5 separate regions of the Homo sapiens genome follow, and regions 2, 3, 4 and 5 are each linked to region 1. The links are contacts of gene promoters, found by promoter capture Hi-C in blood cells and fetal thymus (Javierre and others, 2016). All regions are on one chromosome and are shown on one strand. The core of a region is centred on a gene start or on the middle of the fragment in contact, and the rest is flanking DNA. Distances in the headings are between cores, read along the strand shown.

The links. Contacts are between HindIII fragments. The CHiCAGO score rates a contact against its expected background, and 5 or more counts as called.
Region 2: a contact is called between a fragment that was not itself captured here and the fragment with the promoter of NANOS3 in region 1, in 2 of 17 cell types (activated CD4 T cells and total CD4 T cells). The highest score is 6.1, in activated CD4 T cells.
Region 3: a contact is called between a fragment that was not itself captured here and the fragment with the promoter of NANOS3 in region 1, in 1 of 17 cell types (monocytes). The highest score is 6.6, in monocytes.
Region 4: a contact is called between a fragment that was not itself captured here and the fragment with the promoter of NANOS3 in region 1, in 17 of 17 cell types (M0 macrophages, naive CD4 T cells, naive CD8 T cells and 14 more). The highest score is 12.2, in M0 macrophages.
Region 5: a fragment that was not itself captured here is called in contact with the fragment with the promoter of NANOS3 in region 1 in 7 of 17 cell types (naive CD4 T cells, naive CD8 T cells, monocytes and 4 more); the score reaches 8.7 in naive CD4 T cells.

Annotation. Positions count from the first base shown.
Region 1 is chr19:13,875,705-13,879,932 of GRCh38, forward strand. It overlaps NANOS3 (nanos C2HC-type zinc finger 3), which reads left to right and starts at 1,430. Exons shown (of 2, transcript NM_001098622.3): 1 at 1,430-2,061. The coding sequence starts at 1,545. The HindIII fragment of the contact is 10,444 bases long and covers 1-4,228 here.
Region 2 is chr19:14,274,155-14,278,379 of GRCh38, forward strand. No RefSeq gene overlaps it. Among named protein-coding and RNA genes, the nearest start is that of LINC01842, 57 kb to the right of the region's middle. RefSeq lists a silencer at 3,763-4,057. The HindIII fragment of the contact is 896 bases long and covers 2,181-3,076 here.
Region 3 is chr19:14,385,257-14,389,235 of GRCh38, forward strand. ADGRE5 (adhesion G protein-coupled receptor E5) reads left to right here. Exons shown (of 20, transcript NM_078481.4): 2 at 3,194-3,244; 3 at 3,446-3,562. Among named protein-coding and RNA genes, the nearest start is that of ADGRE5, 5.8 kb to the left of the region's middle. The HindIII fragment of the contact is 9,973 bases long and covers 1-3,979 here.
Region 4 is chr19:14,138,758-14,142,843 of GRCh38, forward strand. All of the region lies in intron 1 of ADGRL1-AS1 (ADGRL1 antisense RNA 1), which reads left to right. Among named protein-coding and RNA genes, the nearest start is that of ADGRL1-AS1, 3.6 kb to the left of the region's middle. The HindIII fragment of the contact is 2,934 bases long and covers 814-3,747 here.
Region 5 is chr19:14,346,471-14,350,328 of GRCh38, forward strand. The region is part of intron 1 of LINC01841 (long intergenic non-protein coding RNA 1841); the gene reads right to left. Among named protein-coding and RNA genes, the nearest start is that of LINC01842, 15 kb to the left of the region's middle. RefSeq lists enhancers at 1,844-2,722, 3,521-3,858. The HindIII fragment of the contact is 7,067 bases long and covers 1-3,858 here.

The DNA of each region.
Region 1 (4,228 bases), core at 180-2,679:
CTAGCTTATTTCGAAAAAGTGTTTTTGTAGGAACAGGGTCTCAAAACGTTGCCCAGGCTGGTCTCCAACTCCTAGGTTCAAGCAATCCTCCTCGGCCTCTCAAAATGAGCCACAGTGCCTGGCCAATAAAAGTTTCTTAAATGAATGGATGGGTGGATGAGCTGTGTAAGCGGCACAGCGTCTCTCCTCTGTGTCCAAGTCCTGAGCACACCCTCCCCTCCTGGGACTGAGCTGAGATCTCATCTCGGGGAGGACACTGAAGACCTGTAGGTACTAGGGGTCCCCTCCTAACAGCCCAACTTGCTATCCCCCACCTCCCAACTCCAGAGGGTTCTTTCTCACCCCTCTGCAGCCCCCGCCAGGAAAGGGCTCCCTCCCCAGCACCTAGCCTCAGGGGGCCCCAGTAACTAGAAGAAGGAGGCAGATGTGGTGCTTTTTGTTGTTGTTGTTTTGAGACAGAGTCTTACTCTGTTTCCCAGGCTGGAGTGCAGTGGCTTGATCTTGGCTCACCGCAACCTCTGCCTCCTGGGTTCAAGCAATTCTTCTGCCTCAGCCTCCTGAGTAGCTGGGATCACAGGCACCCGCCACCATGCCCAGCTAATTTTGTGTGTGTGTGTGTGTGTGTGTGTATTTTTAGTAGAGACAGGGTTTCACCATGTTAGCCAGGCTGGTCTCGAACTCTTGACCTCAGGTGATCCGCCTGTCTTGGCCTCCCAAACTGTTGGGATGACAGGCATGAGCCACCACTCCCTGGCCTGGTGCATGTCTTTATAAATAACTGGATGGGCAGGTGGCTTCACACCTCAGTTTGCTCATCCATTCAATGGGGGTTCCACTAAGACAACCGATGTGAAAACTCTTGGAGGGAGACCAGAGCTGGGGGCCGGGGGGCATGATCCTTCCCCCCTACCCCCGCAACCAGCCCATGAGCCTGGGACTACCACACTCCTTTCAGAGACAGCTGGAGCATCAGCAACCTCCCGCCTGGACACACACACACACAAAGAACCCAGGGGCACCTGGCCACTCCCCCGCCCAGGGGAAGGAAGAAAAAGTTATAAAGAAGTTACTAAGTTAACTTCTTTAAGTTACTGGTAACTGCTAGTCTTTGGGGGTGGGGTTTCCAACCCATTCTCCCCATCCTCCAGTGGGGCTGGAGGGCTAAGGACTCCTACAAGGAGGGGAGGCAGGGTAGCCCCCCAATTCCCTGGAGGTGTGTACGGGGGGCTGTGGTGCACCTCGCAGGATGCCCCCCCACACACCCTGTGTCCTGTAGTCCCCCGGCACAGCCAGAGGCCATACAGCCCTTTAGGAGGAGTATTAGTGGGGCACCAGGCCCCCCTGTGACAATAAGGAACCTCCCACAGCCTGCTCCTCCCTCTTCACACCCCCTTGGAGGTAAAAGGAGGGTCGGCCAGCACAGACTCCCAGGCTCCAGAGAGGGGAAGGAAGGGGCAGCAGAGAGGGGTCAGAAGGAGGGAGCTTAAGCCAGGCAGGGTTACTTGTCTCTGTGACTCCTTCCGCCTGGCACATGCTGCCCAGCTATGGGGACCTTTGACCTGTGGACAGATTACCTGGGTTTGGCACACCTGGTTAGGGCTCTGAGTGGGAAAGAGGGTCCTGAAACCAGGCTGAGCCCCCAGCCAGAGCCAGAGCCAATGCTGGAGCCGGTGTCAGCCCTGGAGCCGATGCCAGCGCCGGAGTCGGTGCCAGTGCCGGGACCCAAGGATCAGAAGCGCAGCCTGGAGTCCTCGCCAGCTCCCGAACGCCTGTGCTCTTTCTGCAAACACAACGGCGAGTCCCGGGCCATCTACCAGTCCCACGTGCTGAAGGACGAGGCTGGCAGGGTGCTGTGTCCCATCCTGCGGGACTACGTGTGTCCCCAGTGCGGCGCCACACGTGAGCGCGCCCACACCCGACGCTTCTGCCCACTTACTGGCCAGGGCTACACCTCCGTCTACAGCCACACCACCCGAAACTCGGCAGGCAAGAAGCTGGTCCGGCCTGACAAGGCGAAGACACAGGACACAGGCCACCGCCGAGGAGGAGGAGGAGGAGCAGGTGCCTGCACAGGTGGCTGGGGGGGACCTGTCCGAGGGTAGTGGCTGAGCCCCCCTGTGAAGTAAGATTAGCCCCAGTACCCACCTCCAAGGGTTAGGGGAAGACCTTAGAGAGAGCTTAGAACAGCAGTTGATTTTATTTACGTATTTATTTATTTATCTTGAGACAGGTCTCTTTCTGTTGCTCAGGCTGGAGTGCAGTGGCGCCATCTCGGCTCACTGCAACCTCCACCTCCTGGATTCAAGCGATTCTCCTGCCCCAGCTTCCTGGGTAGCTGGGATTATAGGCGCGCGCCACCACACCCGGCTAATTGCCACCATGCCCGGCTAAATTTTGTATTTTTAGTAGAGATGGGGTTTCACCATGTTGGCCAGGCTGGTCTCAAAACTCCTGATCTCGTGATCCGCCCACCTCGGCCTCCCAAACTGCTGAGATTACAGGCGTGAGCACCGCACCGAGCCAGTTTGTTTATGTATTTATTTATTTATCTTGAGACAGAGTCTCTTTCTGTCACCCAGGCTGGAGTGCAGTGGCATGATCTTGGCTCACTGCAACCTCTGCCTTCCGGGTTCAAGCGATTCTTCTGCCTCAGCCTCCTGAGAAGCTGAGATTACAGGCGCCTGCCACCATGGCCAGCTAATTTTTGTATTTTTAGTAGAGATGGGGTTTCACCATGTTGGCCAGGCTGGTCTCGAACTCCCAACCTCGTGATCCACCCTCCTCAGCCTCCCAAAGTGCTGGGATTACAGGCATCAGCCACCACATCTGGCCCGCAGGGTTATTATAGATGCAGAAAGAAGACTTTTATTTTATTTATTTATCAATTTATTTTTCTTCCTTTTTTTTTTTAATTTTTTTTTTTGAGATAGAGTCTCGCTCTATCCACCCAGGCTGGATGGAGTTCAGTGGTGCGATCTTGGCTCACTGCAACCTCTGCCTCCTGGGTTCAAGCGATTCTCCTGCCTCAGCCTCCCGAGTAGCTGGAATTACAGGCGTGCACCACCATTCCTGGTGTGTTTTTTTTTTCCTCCCATAGAAACAGGGTCTTACTATGTTTCCCAGGCCGGTCTCAAACACGGCTTAGGTGATCCTCCTGCCTAGGCATCCCAAAATGCTAGGATTATAGGCGTGAGCCACCACGCCTGGCCCCAGTGAGGTTTTCTTTCTTTCTTTCTTTTATTTGATTATTTTTCTGAGATGGAGTCTTGCTCTGTCACCCAGGCTAGAGTGCAGTGGCGCGATCTTGGCTCACTGCAACCTGTCTCCCGGGTTCAAGCGATTCTCTTACCTCAGCCTCCCGAGTAGCTGGGATTACAGGCACCCACCACCACGCACGGCTAATTTTTGTATTTTTAGTACAGACGGGATTTCACCATCTTGGCCAGGCTGAGTCTTGAACTCCTGACCTCGAGATCCACCCGCCTTAGCCTCCCGAAGTGCTGATATTACAGGCTTGAGCCACCATGCCTGGCCCCCAGTGAGGTTTTAAAAGAGAAACTCGTTCTAGCAACTTAAATTGCCTTTGAGGAAGTCAGCTAACAGAGGAGGGGCCAGTCTAACTAGGTGTGTTTGGGCACTGCCTCCCCCAGCAGACTGTGAGCTCCTGGAGGATAGTGACTGGGAGAGGACGACCCCTCCCAACTACTCTCAGGCAGCTTTGCAGTGAACATTTCTTAAAGTCATGAAAGGGTCAGGTGTGATGGCTTACACCTGTAATCCCAATACTTTGGGAGGCCAAGGCAGGAGGATCGCTTGAGCCCAAGAGTTTGAGACCAGCCAGGGCAACATGGTGAAACCCAGTGTCTACAAAAAATTAGCTGGGCATGGTAGTGTGTGCCTGTAGTCCCAGCTACTTGGGAGGCTGACGAGGGAGGATCGCTTGGGTCCAGGGGACAGAGGCTGCAGTGAGCTGAGATGGTGCCACTGCACTGCAGCCTGGGCAACACAGCAAGACCTCGTCTTAAAAAAAAAAAAAAGCACTGGTCATGGTGGCTCATGCCTGTAATCCCAGTACTTGGGGAAGCTGAGGCAGGTGGATCACCTGAGGTCAGGAATTCAAGACCAGCCTGGCCAACATGGTGAAACCCCGTCTCTACTGAAAATACAAAAAATTAACTGGGCATGGTGGCATGCGCCTGTAATCCCTGCTACTCGGGGGGCTGAGACA
Region 2 (4,225 bases), core at 1,379-3,878, 400 kb after region 1:
CTAAGATTCTGTTGCCAGGAGGGTTACAGGGTGGATTCTATAAATGAGGAGCATCAGATCGTCGTGGTGGCTCACACCTGTAATCCCAGTACTTTGGGAGGCCAAGGCAGGCGGATCGCTTGAGCTCAGGAGTTCGAGACCAGCCTGGGCAACACGGTGAAAGCCCATCTCTACTAAAAATACAAAAAATTAGCAGGGTGTGGTGGCACATGCCTGTAATCCCAGCTACTTTGGAGGCTGAGGCGGGAGGATCACTTGAGCCTGGGAGGCAGAGGTTGCAAGTGAGCTGAGATCACACCATTGCACTCCAGCCTGGGTGACAAGAGTGACACTCCGTCTCAAAAAAAAAAAAAAAAAAAAAAGAGAGCGAGAACATGTGGCCTGCAAAGACAGAAATATTTAGATTCTGATCCTTGATGGAAAAAGTTTTCCATCCTCTGCTCTTGACTTCATTTGGTCATTCCCACAATGAATAAGTTAGTTCTAGGATCTTGGAGCAAACATGTCTGTATTAGTCTGTTTTCACACCGCTATAAAGAACTATGTGAGAGTGAGTAATTTATGAAGAAAAAAGGTTTAATTGACTCACAGTTCCGCATGGCTGATGGGGCCTCAGGAAACTTACAATCATGACAAAAAGTGAAGGGAAAGCAAGGCACATCGTACATGGAGGCAGGGGAGAGAGAGAGAGAGAGAGAGAGAGAGAGAGAGGAGAGAGAGAGAGAGAGAGAGAGAGAGAGAGAGAGAGAGAGAGAGAGAGAGAGAGAGAGAGGAAGTGCCAGACGCTTATCAAACAACCAGATCTGGTGAGAACTCATTGTCACGAGAATAGCAAGGGGGAAATGCTCCCGTGATCCAATCTCCTCCCACCAGGTCCCTCCCCTCGACACGTGGGGATTACAATTCTAGATGCGATTTGGGTGGAGACACAGTCAAACATGTCAGTGTTCTTTCTCTAAGGCTCCATTTTGTCCTCTGTAAAATGGGGTGAGAGGCCCCTACTTAACTGCACGAGCTTGCTCTGCAATTAAAATTGCATGTCATGGGCCAAGGGACTTTGAAAGTGGGACAGCTCCTGCAGGTGCTTTTGGCTGGAGTCACAGGATCCAAAACCCCCCAGTAATCCCCACATCTTTCCTTTCTTTTCTCTCTCTTTTCTTTTTTCTCTTTCTCTTTCTTTCTTTTCTTTCTCTCTTTCTTTTTCTCTTTCTTCCCCCTCTCTCCTTCCCTTCCCTTCCCTCCCTCCCTCCCTTCCTTTTCCTTTTTTCTGAGAAAGAGTCTCGCTCTTATCACCCAGGCTGGAGTGCAGTTTCGTGATCTTGGCTCACTGCAACGTCTGCCTCCTGGATTCAAGCTGTTCTCCTGCCTCAGCCTCCTGAGTAGCTGGGATTACAAGCGCCCACCACCACGCTCAGCTAATTTTTGTACTCTTAGTAGAGATAGGGTTTTGACATGTTGACCAGGCTGGTCTCGAACTCCTAACCTCAGGTGATCCGCCCACCTTGGCCTCCCAAAGTGCTGGGAATACAGGTGTAAGCTACTGCGCCCAGCCCTTTTCTTTCTTTCTTTTTTTTTTTTTTTTGAGACAGAGTCTCACTGTGTTGCCCAGGCTGGAGTGCAGTAGTGTGTTCTCAGCTCACTGCAACCTTCACCTCCCGGGTTCAAGCTATTCTCCTGCCTCAGCCTCCTGAGTAGCTGGGATAACAGGTGCCTGCCACCAAGCCCGGTTAATTTTTGTACTTTTAGTAGAGACAGGGTTTCACCATGTTAGCCAGGCTGGTCTGAAACTCCTTACTGTCAGGACTCTGAGCCCAAGCTAAGCCATCATAACCCCTGTGACCTGCACGTATACATCCAGACGGCCTGAAGCAACTGAAGAACCACAAAAAAAGTGAAATAGTCAATTCCTGCCTTAACTGGCTAATGGTGGATGACATTCCACCATTGTGATTTGTTCCTGCCCCACCCTAACTGATCAATTGACTTTGTGACATTCCTTCTCCTGGACAATGAGTCTCAGGAGCTCCCCACCGAGCACCTTGTGACCCCCGCCCCTGCCCACAAGAGAAAACCCCGTTTAACTGTAATTTTCCACTACCTACCCAAATCCTATAAAACTGCCCCACCCCTTTGCTGACTCCTTTTTTGGACTCAGTCCGCCTGCACCCAGGTGATTAAAAAGCTTTATTGCTTACAGAAAGCCTGTTTGGTGGTCTCGTCATATGGACGCATGTAATACTGACCTCAGGTGATCTGGCTGCCTCAACCTCCCAAAGTGCTGGGATTACAGGTGTGAGCCACTGTGTCTGGCCCTTTTCTTTCTTTTTAGTGGAAATGGGGTCTTGCCATGTTGGTCAGGCTGGTCTCGAACTCCTGGCCTCAAGCAATCCTCCCTCCTCAGCCTCCCAAAGTGCTGGGATTATAAGCATGAGCCACTGCACCCAGCTACCTTTCTCAGTTCTGCCTTAATGTCTCACGTGGCTGTTTTCCTTTTCTCTTGTGTATTCTTTCCTCCCCCTCTGTCTTCTTGCTTTTTTTTTTTTTTTTTTTTTGAGAGAGAGTCTCATTCTGTCACTCAGACTGGAGTGCAGTGGTGTGATCTTGGCTCATTGCAACCTCTGCCTCCCATGTTCAAACGATTCTCCCACCTCAGCCTCCCAAGTAGTTGGGACTACAGGCGCACGCAATCATACCCAGCTAATTTTTGTATTTTTAGTAGAGACAGGGTTTCACCATGTTGGTCAGGCTGGTCTTGAACTCCTGACCTCAAGTGATCCGCCCACCTCAGCCTCCCAAAGTGCTGGGATTACAGGCGTGAGCCACCGCTCCCAGCCTCTACTTGCTTTTTCCTTCTCACACCTCTCTCTTCTCTTCTGGTTCCCTCTCCCAGCCTTCTCTCTGCACCTCCTCCCCTGCCACTTGCTCTCTTCAAACTCGGGGATGTGAGAAAGTTCCCGCAGAAATTGCAATCTCCTCTCCTCTCATGTGGCTCCGAGATAAGACAGTAAAAATCCGATTTTCAGCAATTTGCTTCATTTGTGAGCTCTCCGGAGTCTCCCTTTCTCCCCCTGACATAAGCTTAGCAAAATTGCCTGGGTGGAGTGGATATTTTTAACCACTTAGTAGTCAGAGCGGGTTCAGAAAGTTTTGCAAGAAACCGGGCCAGGCCCTGTGCCTGGGGTTGCTGGCGGGTTTGGGGCTGGAGGGAAGCACGTGGGGTGGCCTCAAAGGGTTTAGTGGAGGGGCATTTAAGAAGAGGATGTCCGCCGGCCATGGTGGCTCAAGCCTGTAATCCCAGTGAGAGGTGACAGTGTGCTGGCAGCCCTCGCAGCCCTCGCTCGCTCTCGGCGCCTCCTGGGCCTCAGGCGCCCACTCTAGCCGCGCTTGAGGGGCCCTTCAGCCTGCGGCTGCAATGTGGGAACCCCTCTCTGGGTTGGCTGAGGCCGGAGCCAGCTCCCTCAGCTTGTGGGGAGGTGCGGACTGGTGGAAACCAGGGCTGCCCGCTGCACTTGCAGGCCAGCGTGAGTTCCAGGTGGGTGTGGGCTCCGTGGCCCCGCACTCGGAGCAGCAGGCTGGCGCTGCCGGCCCTGGGCAGTGAGGGGCTTGGCACCCGGGCCAGCAGCTGCGGAGGGTTCGCCGGGTCCCGGCGCTGTGCTCGAATTCTCGCTGGGCCTCAGCTACCTCCCCGCCGGGCAGGGCTCGGGATCTGCAGCCTGCCATGCTTGAGCCTTCCCCCAACGCCATGGCCTCTTGTGCGGCCTGAGCCTCCCCTACCAGCGCCGCCCCCTGCTCCGCGGCGCCGGGTCCCACCGACCACCCAAGAGCTGAGAAGTGCGGGCGCACAGCGCGGGACTGGCAGGCAGCTCCACCTGCTGCCCTGGTGCGGGATCCACTATGTGAAGCCAGCTGGACTCCTGAGTCCAGTGGGACTTGGAGAACCTTTATGTCTAGCTAAGGGATTGTAAATATACCAATCAGCACTCTGTCTAGCTCAAGGCTTGTAAATGCACCAATTAGCACTCTGTGTCTAGCTCAAGATTTGTAAATACACCAATCAGCACTCTGTGTCTAGCTCAAGGTTTGCACTCTGTATCTAGCTAATATGGTGGGGACTTGGAGAACCTTTAGTGTCTAGCTAAGGGATTGTAAATACACCAATCAGCACTCTCTGTCTAGCTCAAGGTTTGTAAATGCACCAATCAGTGCTCTGTGTCTGGCTAATCTA
Region 3 (3,979 bases), core at 267-2,766, 510 kb after region 1:
CTGCCTCGGCCTCCCAAAGTGCTGGGATTACAGGCGTGAACCACCAAGCACAGCCCCCCACCTTCTGTCTCTCTGTCTCTTTGTGTCTCTGTCTCTCTTTCTGTGTCTCTCTTTCTTTCTGACTCTTTCTCTCTCTCTGTCTGTCTCTCTCTCTCTCTAATCTCTATTTTCTCTCCACCCCTGCTTCTTTGTCTCTATCTCTCTGGTGAACAGCAAGGAGATCCCTAGGTCCCCATCTCTGAATCCCCTGGTGACCTGAGGAGGGTCCCCCAGAACATGCCTTGGGAGGGGGAACCCCCTGAGTGCTGGGAACCGCCACTCCACGTGCACCCCAACAGGCGGCTACAGCGTCTTCCTGTGGGAGGGGGGCCCGGGGGTGAAATATCACCACTGGGTTCCAGGACAGACCGCCAGGGCCAGTGGCAGTTGTGGGTGTGGTGTGTGTGCACCTGTGTCCCTGAGGAAGCGTGGAGGTCCAGGGCATCTCAGAGCCTGGGTGATCCAACACCGTCATTTTTTTTTTTTTTTTTCTGAGACGGAGTCTTGCTCTGTCACTCAGGCTGGAGTGCAGTGGCGTGATCTTGGCTTGCTGCAACTCTGCCTCCTTAGTTCAAGCGATTCTCAAGCCTCAGTCTCCCAAGTAGCTGGGATAACAGGCACCCACCACCACGCCCAGCTAATTTTTTGTATTTTCAGTAGAGAGGGGGTTTCACCATATTAGGCAGGCTGGTCTCGAACTCCCGATCTCAAGTGATCCACCCGCCTCGGCCTCCCAAAGTGCTGGGATTACAGGCATGAGCCACTGTGCCTGACCACGCCTTCATTTTTACCTAAAGAAATGAAGATGGCAGGCAGGGCCTGGCGGCTTGTGCCAGCACTTTGGGAGGCCAAGGCAGGTGGATCACGAGGTCAGGAGATCGAAACCATCCTGGCTAACATGGTGAAACCCCTTCTCTACTAAAAATATAAAAAGTTAGCCAGGCGTGGTGGTGGGCGCCAGTAGTTCCAGCTACTCTGGAGGCTGAGGCAGGAGAATGGCGTGAACCCGGGAGGTGGAGCTTGCAGTGAGCAGAGATCACACCACTGCACTTCATCCTGGGCAACAGAGCAAGACTCCATCTCAAAAAAAAAAAAAAAAAAAAAAAAAAGAGAGGCCGGGCGCGGTGGCTCACGCCTGTAATTCCAGCACTTTGGGAGGCTGAGGCGGGCGGATCATGAGGTCAGGAGATCAAGACTACCATCCTGGCTAACATGGTGAAACCTTGTCTCTACTAAAAATACAAAAAAATAAGCTGGGCGTGGTGGCGGGAGCCTGTGGTCCCAGCTACTCGAGAGGCTGAGACAGGAGAATGGTGTGAACCCGGGAGGCGGAGCTTGCAGTGAGCCAAGTTTGCACCACTGCACTCCAGCCTGGGCGACAGAGCAAGACTCCGTCTCAAAAAAAAAAAAAAAAAAAAAGAGAAATGAAGATGGCAGGCTGGGCACGGTGGCTCACGCCTGTAATCCCAGCACTTTTGGAGGCCAAGGCGGGAGGATCACTTGAGGCCGGGAGTTCAAGACCAGCCTGGCCAACATGGTGAAACCCCGTCTCTACAAAAATACAAAAAAATCAGCCGGGCTTGGTGGCGGGTGCCTGTAATCCCAGATACTCTGGAGACTGAGGCAGAGGAATTGCTTGAACCCGGGAGGTGGAGGTTGCAGTGAGCCAGGATCGTGCCATCGCACTCCAGCCTGGGCGACAGAGAGAGACTCTGTCTCAGAAAAAAAATAAAATAAATAAATAAATAAAAGAAGAAGAAATGAAGATGGCAGTAAATGCTCAGGCACACCGGACAGCAGTCATGTGGTTTACTCCCACACACACTACACTGGGGAGTGGGCGCCATCATCCCTATTCTACAGAGGGAAACTGAGGCAGAGAGGCCCACTGTCTGGGATTTGAACTGGGGATGCCTGGCTCCTGTCTGTTTTCTTAGCCACTCCCCACACACCCCAGGTCAGAAGAGCAGCAGCTGGAGCTGAGACCCCCACCAGGCTCATGGCCCTTCCCTACTCAGTTCCTGAAACTCCACCCTCAAGCCGAGCTCGGGAGGCTGAGGCGGGGAGGATCGCTTGAGGCCAGGAGTTCAAGATCAGCCTGGGCAACAGAGCAAGACTCTGTCTGTAAAATAATTTTTTGAATTATTTTTAGGCCGGCCACAGTGGCTCATGCCTGTAATCCCAGCACTTTGGGAGGCCGAGGTGGGTGGATCACGAGGTCAGGAGATCGAGACCATACTGGCTAACACAGTGAAACCCCATCTCTACTAAAAATACAAAAAATTAGCCGGGTGTGGTGGTGGACGCCTGTAGTCCCAGCTACTCGGGAGGCTGAGGCAGGAGAATGGCATGAACCCAGGAAGCGGAGCTTGCAGTGAGCTGAGATCATGCCACTGCACTCCAGCCTGGGTGACAGAGTGAGACTCCGTTTCAAAAAAAAAAATTATTTTTAATTTTTTGGCCTGGCATGATAAATTATTTTATTTTAAAAATTTTGAGTCAGGAAATGTGGCTCACGCCTGTAATCCCAGCACTTTGGGAGGCCAAGACAGGCAGATCACCTGAGGTCAGGAGTTCGAGACCAGCCTGGCCAATATGGTGAAACCCTGTCTCTAGTAAAAATACAAAAAATTAGCCGGGTGTGGTGGCAGACTCCTGTAATCCCAGCTACTCAGGAGGCTGAAGCAGGAGAATCACTTGAACCCAGGAGGTAGAGATTGCAGTGAGCCAAGATCACAGCATTGCACTTCAGCCTGGGCGACAGAGCAAGACTCTGTCTCAAAAAGAAAAAAAAATTTAGTGCACACCTGTGGTCCCAGCTACTTGGGAGGCTGAGGCAGGAGGATCTCTTGAGCCTAGGAATTGGAGGCTGCAGTGAGATATGATTGCACCACTGCACTCCAGCCTGGGTGACCAAGCAGGAGCCTGTGTCAAAAAAAAAACAAAAACAAAAAAACCCGCCCCTATGGGAACAGGGTGACAGACTCTTTGGCTTTGAGCATCTGAGTGGGACATGACATCTGCTCACTCTGAACGACCGTCAGGATCTGAGCCTGAGAGGGGTCAGCATCCTCCTCCCACAAAGTGCATCACCCTTACGCCTCCTTTCCCACCCTGGGATCCCCTCTGACCCCCTTTCCTTTCTCTGTTGCAGCATTCTGTGTCTGGCTGACTCTGCCGGGAGCTGAAACCCAGGACTCCAGGGGTGAGTCTGCTGGGAAGCAGAAAGCACAGTCCACAGCCAGAGCCTGGGGAGGGTCCTGGACCCCCGCCCAGCCCCCTTCAGCCCAGGGAAAGAGAGGGCTCGCGCACGAGAAACTCAGCGCCCTGCCCCATCTCCCCCAGTGCCCCCTTTTTGTGTATTCCCTTACCCCTCACCTTCTGACCGTGCTCCCTGCTCTTGCAGGCTGTGCCCGGTGGTGCCCTCAGAACTCCTCGTGTGTCAATGCCACCGCCTGTCGCTGCAATCCAGGGTTCAGCTCTTTTTCTGAGATCATCACCACCCCGACGGAGACTTGTGACGGTACAGAGGCTTGAGGGCAGCGCAGGGGACATCCGCGATTATGAGGCATTGCCCAGCCAGTGGGGGACAGAGGTTGTTGTGAGGGGCCACAGCCTTACCTTCCAGACTATCATCATGGCCAGAGAAAAGAAAAAGAGGGCAGGCGTGGTGGCTCACGCCTGTAATCCCAGCACTTTGGGAGGCTGAGGCGGGCAGATCGTTTGAGGCCAGGAGTACTCAGAAGACTGAGGGGAGAGGATTATTTGAGCCCAAGAGTTTGAGGCTGCAGTGAGCTATGATTGCACCACTGCACTCTAGCCTGGGCAACAGAATGAGATCGTGTCTCAGGGAGAGGGAGAGGAAGGGGAAGAGGGAGAGGGGGAGAGGAAGGGGAAGAGGGAGAGGGGTAGGGGGAGGGAGAAGGGGAGGGGAAGGGGG
Region 4 (4,086 bases), core at 1,031-3,530, 260 kb after region 1:
TCTGGACAGTGTTCAAACTCACAGGCCGTACGCCTGAACAGCACTGAGCCAAGGCACTAGTATTTCTTACCCAGTCACCTCTGTGGGCTCACTAGGACTCACTCACTGTGCTAGTATGTTTTCCTTTTCCTTTTCTTTTTAAACAATCCAGTTCCTGTGGGATTTTTTTTTTTTAATAGAGGTCTGTTGCCCAGGCTGGAGTGCAAGTGGCATAATCGTGGCTCACTATAACCTGGAACTCTTGGGCTCAAGTGATCCTCCCACCTCAGCCTCCCGAGTGGCTGGGATCACCAGTGCGTGCCACCATGCCTAATTTGTTTTATTTTATTTTATTTTTTTTTTGAGAGGGAGTCTTGCTCTGTCACTCAGGCTGGAATGCAGTGGCGCAATCTCAGCTCACTGCAACCTCCTGCTTCCAGCTTCAAGCGATTCTCCCACCTCAGCCTCCCGAGTAGCTGGGACTACAGGCACACGCTACCTTACCCAGCTAATTTTTGTATTTTTAGTAAAGATGGGGTTTCACTATGTTGGCCAGGCTGGTCTCAAACTCCTGACCTCAGGTGATCCACTCACCTCGGCCGCCCAAAGTGCTGAGATTACAGGCATGAGCCACCGTGCCCTGCCTCTTATACTTTTTAAATTTTTTGTAGAGACAGGGTCTCGCTGTTGCCCAGGCTGGTCTTGAAACTCCTGGCCTCAAGCAGTCCACCTATCTTGTCCTTAAGTGCTGGGATTACAGCGCCTAGCCCATTTTTGGTATCTACATCTCACATTAAGTTAAGAAAAATTCTTTTTAGCTGTTAAAAAATCGAAAGCTTTGTTTTTATTCTTTTGAAATTATTTGGCTTCAAGGAAACTCACATTTATGATTCGCTTGATTTCTTGGCAATCATTGCATACTTAGGGATATTTGTGATTTGAGAAAATCTAATTTCCAAATGTAATTCGATTGCTTATGAATACTAAATTTAATGATTAATGCAGTTGTCATGATGTCACATTTCTAGATGCTTAATTAAACATTTATTCATTCCAACTTTGTAGTTTTCTCTTTGCATTGTGGAACTTTTTTCCCTTTATCCCTGTCCCTGACCTTTTCGTAGCCCCTGAGAAGCTCATGATCCACCAGCATTATTTCCGTGGCGCTAATGAAGAATGTGGCCCTGTCTATGATGCATTCTCCTTACAGCTGGCTGAATGATCTTCACTTGTAAACCAGATCATGTCATTACTCTGCTTAAAACCTTCAGAGGCTTATCCTACTTAGAATGAAACCTAAGATCTTTCCTATGGCTTAGGCGGCCCTGCGTGGTGGCCTCAGCTGACCTCTCAGGCCTCATCTACCATTCTTCCTCTTGTCACCGCTCTCAAGCCCAGCTGGCTTTATTTCCCTTCTTTCAACACACCCAGCTTATTTCTGCCGCAGGGCTTTGCACTTGCCGTTCCCTCTGCCTGGAATGTGCTTCCTCCAGATAATTGCATGGCTGTCTCTTTCTCTTCGCTTGTGGTTCAGCTCAAATGTCCTCTGAAAGAAGACTTCCCAGAGTACCCTATTTAAAGTAGCACTTTCTTGGCCGGGCGCGGTGGCTCATGCCTGTAATCCCAGCACTTTGGGAGGCCAAGGCAGGCGGATCACGAGGTCAGGAGATCGAGACCATCCTGGCTAACATGGTGAAACCGCATCTCTACTAAAAATACAAAAAATTAGCCGGGCGTGGTGGCGGGCGCCTGTAGTCCCAGCTACTTGGGAGGCTGAGGCAGGTGAATCGCTTGAATCTGAGAGGTGAGGGTTGCAGTGAGCTGAGATCGTGCCTCTGCAATCCAGCCTGGGTGACAGAGCAAGACTCCGTGTCAAAAAAAATAAATAAATAAATAAAGTAGCTTTTTCTTAATCACATCACTCAGTTTTATGATCTTAGTAACGCATATCAGAATTTGTACTTATTTTCGGGTGGGCATGGTGGCTCACACCTATAATCCCAGCACTTTAGGAGGCCAAGGCGGGCCGGTCACTTGAGGTCAGGAGTTCGAGACCAGCCTGGCCAACATGGCAAGACCCCGTTTCTACTAAAAAAAAAAAATACAAAATAAATAAATAAATAAATAAATAAATTAGCTGGGCGTGGTGGCACGTGCCTGTAGTCCCAGCTGCTCAGGAGGCAGAAGAATTGCTTGAACCGGGGAGGCAGAGGCTGCAATGAGCCGAGATCACGCCACTGCACTCAAGCCTGGGCAACTGAGAGAGATTCCATCTTAAAAAGAAAAAAAGAATTTCTACTTATTTTGGTTTTAAATTGTGCTTATTATCTCATCATCCCTCAGTAGATTGAAAGCTGGTTGTGAGAAGAGATCTCGCCTAGCTCACACCTCTCAATGTTGTACTTCCAGAGCTTAGCAGAGGACGTGGCTCATAGAAAGTCCTCAATCAATTTTTCAAAAAGAATAAATCTGGCTGGGCGCAGTGAGTCACACACTCTGGGAGGCCGAGGTGGGCGGATTACCAGGTCAGGAGATCGAGACCATCATGGCAAACATGATTAAAACCTGTCTCTACTAAAATACAAAAAATTAGCCAGCCGTGGTGGTGCGTACCTGTAGTCCTAGCTACTTGGGAGGCTGAGGCAGGGGAATTGCTTGAACCTGGGAGGTGGAGGTTGCAGTGAGCCTAGATTGCACCACTGCACTCCAGTCTGGTGACAGAGGAAGACTCCGTCTCAAAAAAAAAAAGAATAAATCTATGTAAAGGGTGGGTTTAGCATAGTACCTGGAATGTGAAAAGTACTCAATAAACATGAACCAGCCAGGTGCAGTGGCTCACGCCTGTAATCCCAGCACTTTGGGAGGCTGAGGCGGGTAGATTGCTTGACCTCAGGAGTTCGAGACCAGCCTGGGCAAAACCCTGTCTCTACAAAACATAAAAAAATTAGCCGGGTGTGGTGGCATGTGCCTGTGGTCCCAGCTACTCAGGAGGCTGAGGTGAGAGGATTGCTTGAGCCCTGGGGGCAGAGGTTGCAGTGAACCAAGATCTCACCACTGCACTCCAGCTTAGCTAGGCAACAGAGTGAGACCCTGTCTAAAAACAAACAAAAGACTGAACTGTTAGTAGCATATAGTAATAAGCAGATACGTCTTCATTCTTGTTTAATACTTCAGGTGCACACATGCTCGAGAAAGTATAAGAAGTGCTATAGCAAAATACTGTTACCCAGCTTAACAGCTAAAACATTAGAGATGCAACTGAAGGGCCCTATACCCCTACATCAAACCCATTCCTCTTCCTTTTTCCTCACATGTAACCACAACCCTGAATTTGGTGTTTACAGTCTTCTGTGCATATCGGCGTGTATCTTTAAACAATATATAGTATTGTTTGTCATGTTCTATACTTTTATATAAATGGTGTCTGCGCAATTTAGAGTTAACCTAGCAGGCCTGAGACTGCTATCCTTAGAAAGACCTGTTTGCAAGATTGGCCCTTGGCTGATATCTAGGAACTTGGATTTCAGGAGGGTTCCTGCCGTTCCCCAAATGATGAGTGCCTAAACTGTTTCCACCAACAATGTGGTTCATGTTGAACACCTGCTCTCCTTCTGGAGTCTGGCATTTTGGTACACGACCACCCCCAAGTACAACTCTGGTCACTGAGTAATGAGCTTCCCTGGTAGACCGCCTATCCGTCGTGCTGTCATACTTGGCGGTAGGAATTGATGGAGTCCTGTGTGACTCCACTAGGAGAGGACTCTTAGAAGCTTGTCCTGGTTTCCTCTGGACTTCAGCTCCTGCATCTTTTCCCTTTGCTGATTGTGCCTTGTGTCTCTTCACTATCATAAATCACAGCCATGCCTACGCTTCCAAGCAAAATCCTGTGACTCCTCTTAGTGAGTCATTGAACCTCAGGGTGGTCTTGGGGACCTCTGATAGCAGGATCATACTGGGTGTATCCTGACAGAGCTGGCACTAAGGTGGCACTGGGTCCTGCCTTCTGAAACTTGCTTTTTTTAATCCAGTGTAATGCTTTTGAGATTTATCTATGTGGAAACGTGTATAGCTCTAATTCACTTATTTTCACTGCTATACAGCTGTGCT
Region 5 (3,858 bases), core at 281-2,780, 470 kb after region 1:
GAAACAGCTCAGTGCACGCACATTATTCAAATGCAGACACAGTGGGTGCACCGGCAGCATTAGACCACACATACCCACTGTGCACCAAGTCCTTGAACTAAGGAAACAGCAGGATCATCCACACCTGGTGTGTTTTCCTACCAAGATGTATAAACCAGCAGAGGAGACCCCCAATTCCACCCAGATGTGGGGCCCTGCCCAGACCAGCTTTTTGTGCAACTCACAGACACCCTGGAAAGTGGTTCAATGACCATTAAAACCATTTTAGAGACGAGGCAACTGAGGCCCAGACAGGGTAAGTGTTTTGTTGTTGTGTTTTTGTTTTTGTTTTTTGAGATGGAGTCTTGCTCTGTTGCCCAGGCTGGAGTGCAGTGGCACCATCTCAGCTCACTGCAACCTCTGCCTCCTGGGTTCAAACGATTCTCATGCCTCAGTCTCCCAAGTAGCTACAGGCGCGTGCCACCACACCCAGCTAATTTTTGTATTTTTAGTAGAGACAGGGTCACTCCATGTTGACCAGGCTGGTCTCGAACTCCTGATCTTAAGTGATCCTCCCACCTTGTCCTCCCAAAGTGCTGGGATTATTGGCATGAGCCACTGTGCCCAGCCCAGACAGGAGAAGTTTATGACCCAGCTAGAAACCCAGAGACCCCTTAGGCATGTGTAGACATGCTTTTGAAGGCAAAGAGGGTAGGATGAAAGGAGACCCTCCCCACCATCATCTCGGAATTGAGATAAGGAGGGACAGGAAGGGCTTTAGCTTCCCAGAGGGAATCCTGTATCACTTTGGGTAACTAGAAAATCTATTGAAAAATGTTTTTAGGCTGGGCGAGGTAGTGCTCACCTGAAATCTCAGCACTGAGGGAGCCTGAAGCAGGAGGATGTCTTGAGCCCAAGAGTTGGAGACCAACCCGGGCAACATGGCAAGACTTCTCGTCTCTGCAATAAATAAAATACAATTTTTGTTGTTGTTGTTGTTTGTTTGTTCTTTTGAGACGAAGTTTCGCTCTTTTTGCCCAGGCTGGAGTGCAATGGCGTGACCTCAGCTCACTGCAACCTCTGCCTCCCGGGTTCAAAGGAGTCTCCTGCCTCAGCCTCCCGAGTAACCGGGATTACAGGCGCATGCCACCACGCCCAGCTAGTTTTGTATTTTTAGTAGAGACGGGGTTTCGCCATGTTGGCCAGGCTGGTCTTGAAATCCTGACCTCCAGTAATTCACCCGCCTCAGCCTCCCAAAGTGCTGGGATTATAGGCGTGAGCCATGACGCCCAGCCAAATACAATGTTTTTTAAACATACATTGTTTTTTAAACATTGGCTGACTCTTGGCCAAGCATCACGCCTGTAATCCCAGCACTTTAGGAAGCTGAGGCGGGCAGATCACTTGAGGTCAGGAGTTTCACACCAGCCTGGTCAACGTGGTGAAACCCTGTCTCTACTAAAAATACAAAAAATTAGCTGGGCGTGGTGGCGCGTGCCTGTAATCCCAGCTACTCGGGAGTCTGAGGCAGGAGATGGCTTGAACCCAGGAGGCAGAGGTTGCACTGAGCCAAGATCCTGCCACTGCACTCCAGCCTGAGTGACAGAGCAAAACCGTGTCTCAAACAAACAAACAAACAAAATGGGCTGACTCTGGACTCACACAGGCCTGGTGTCTCCAATCCCAGCCTTGCCATTTTCTGGCTCTATGAACCTGGGTGAGCCGCATCGCCTCCCTGAGCCTCAGTTTCCCCATCTGTAAAACGGGGATTCACCCATTCACCATTCCACAAATGTGCACCCAAGACCCACTGACACCAAGCGCTGCGCCCAGCTCTAACCTATATAAAGTTAAGGAAGAACACGAACATGGTAAGTGCGTCTCCCCCTCCCCCAGGCATGGAGCTGCTGAACTAGTTTTGGGAATGGAATCAGAGCACGCGTGGACAGATGGAGGGAGCCCTCAGCTGCCCGGACTCTGCAGCCCACCACCCCCACTCTTCTCAGATCCCCCTCGTTTGACCAAAAAGCCCCTCTACCACGAGGTAGGACCCCAAGCAGGATCCCAGGGACTGGCGTCCAAATCCGGGCCAGGAACTGACCCCAGCAGCCAGACCCGGGACGGGGCTAAAGCTCGGGTTTTTCCACCTCCGCTTCCCGCCACTGCAGCGCGGGGAGCGAGCGCCACCTGTGGGCCTCCAAGGGGAGGTGCGTGCGACTCCCGGGGAGGTGGACGGTCGCCCCCGTTTCTCCCCAACCCGGGGGACCTCGGGCCCTCCAGGAGTTTCGGAAACAGCTCTCATCTCTTAAATTCTCCTCCACAACCCACTTTTCCCGGCTGCCATTTCCCAGCTAGAACTCGTCGTCCATGCATTCATGCAACATTTATTGAGCACCTACTGTGTGTATTGAGCAAACCTAGATCATTGCTCTAGGTTTAGAGTACACAGAAGACAGAATGGGGCTGGCTCAGGCCTGTAACCCCAGCCACTCAGGAGGCTGAGGTGGGAGGATCACTTGAGCCCAGAAGATGGAGGCTGCTGTGAGTCATGATGGCACCATTGCACTCCAGTCTGAGAAACACAGCGATACCCTGTCTCTAAAAGTAAAAAGAGGCCAGGTACAGTGGCTCGGCCAGGCACGGTGGCTCACGCCTGTAATTCCAGCACTTTGGGAGGCCAAGGCGTGCGGATCACGAGGTCAGCAGTTCGATACCAGCCTGACCGACATGGTGAAACCCCCTCTCTACTAAAAATACAAAAATTAGCCAGGCGTGGTGGCGGGCGCCTGTAATCCCAGCTACTCAGGAGGCTGAGGCAGGAGAATTACTTGAACCCAGGAGACGGAGGTTGCAGTGAGCAGAGATCGTGTCACTGCACTCCAGCCTGGGCGACAGAGCAAGACTCCATCTCAAAAAAAAGAAAAAAAATGGAAACAAAACAGATAAACCTCCATGCCCTTCTGGAGCTTACAGTCCAAGGGAAGAGAGAAGAGAGGAGGAAGAGGACAACAGGCTGCAAGATCATTGCTGATGGCAGTAAGTGCAGTAAGTGTTCTGAAGGAGAAAGTATATACAGGGATGTCACTGAAGCACCTGCTGTGGGTAGAGTGGGTGGAGTGGGCTCTGAGGAAGTGACGCTTATCCTGAGGCCTGAGAAGAATAAAGCCCCAGCCATGCCGAGTCTGGAGCCAGGATTTCCAGTAGAAGGCGCAGCCAGCGCAAAGGCCCTGTGGCAGAAAGGAGCTCGGGTGTTGAACAGTGGGAAAGGAGGTCACAGTAGCCAGAGCCGAGAGATGAAGAAACAGGTGGGCTGCGATGTCAAGGCCTATTTTGGAGACAAATCTGATCTCTCACTCCCCCTGAGGAGTCACCTCCTAAAAGCCCGAGGGGAGAAGAAGGCTCACACTGAGCTAAAAGCCCTCCAACACCACCAGCTGCACCCTTCTCGTCGCCCACCCACAGATATGGTGTCGCCCACAGAAAGAAGCCCTGGCCCATGCACTGTCCCCCTACCCACCCCACCACTCTCCCAGGACTTTGCCTCTGACCATATTGACCCCAATTATGCAGTTAAGGTGCACGTGGTCGGCTCTGCTTGCAAAGTCCCCTTCTTACCCCCTGCCCATCTCCCTGGGAGACACAGGGAACCATGCAATGTGCCTTCCAAGACCAATGCTTGGCCAGGCGCGGTGGCTCATGCCTGTAATCCCAGCACTTTGGGAGGCCGAGGTGGGCGGATTGCCTGAGGTCAGGAGTTTGAGACTAGCCTGGCCAATATGGTGAAACCCCGTCTCTACTAAAAATACAAAAATTAACCGGGCGTTGTGGCAGGCACCTGTAATTCCAGCTACTCGGGAGGCTGAGGCAGGAGAATCACTT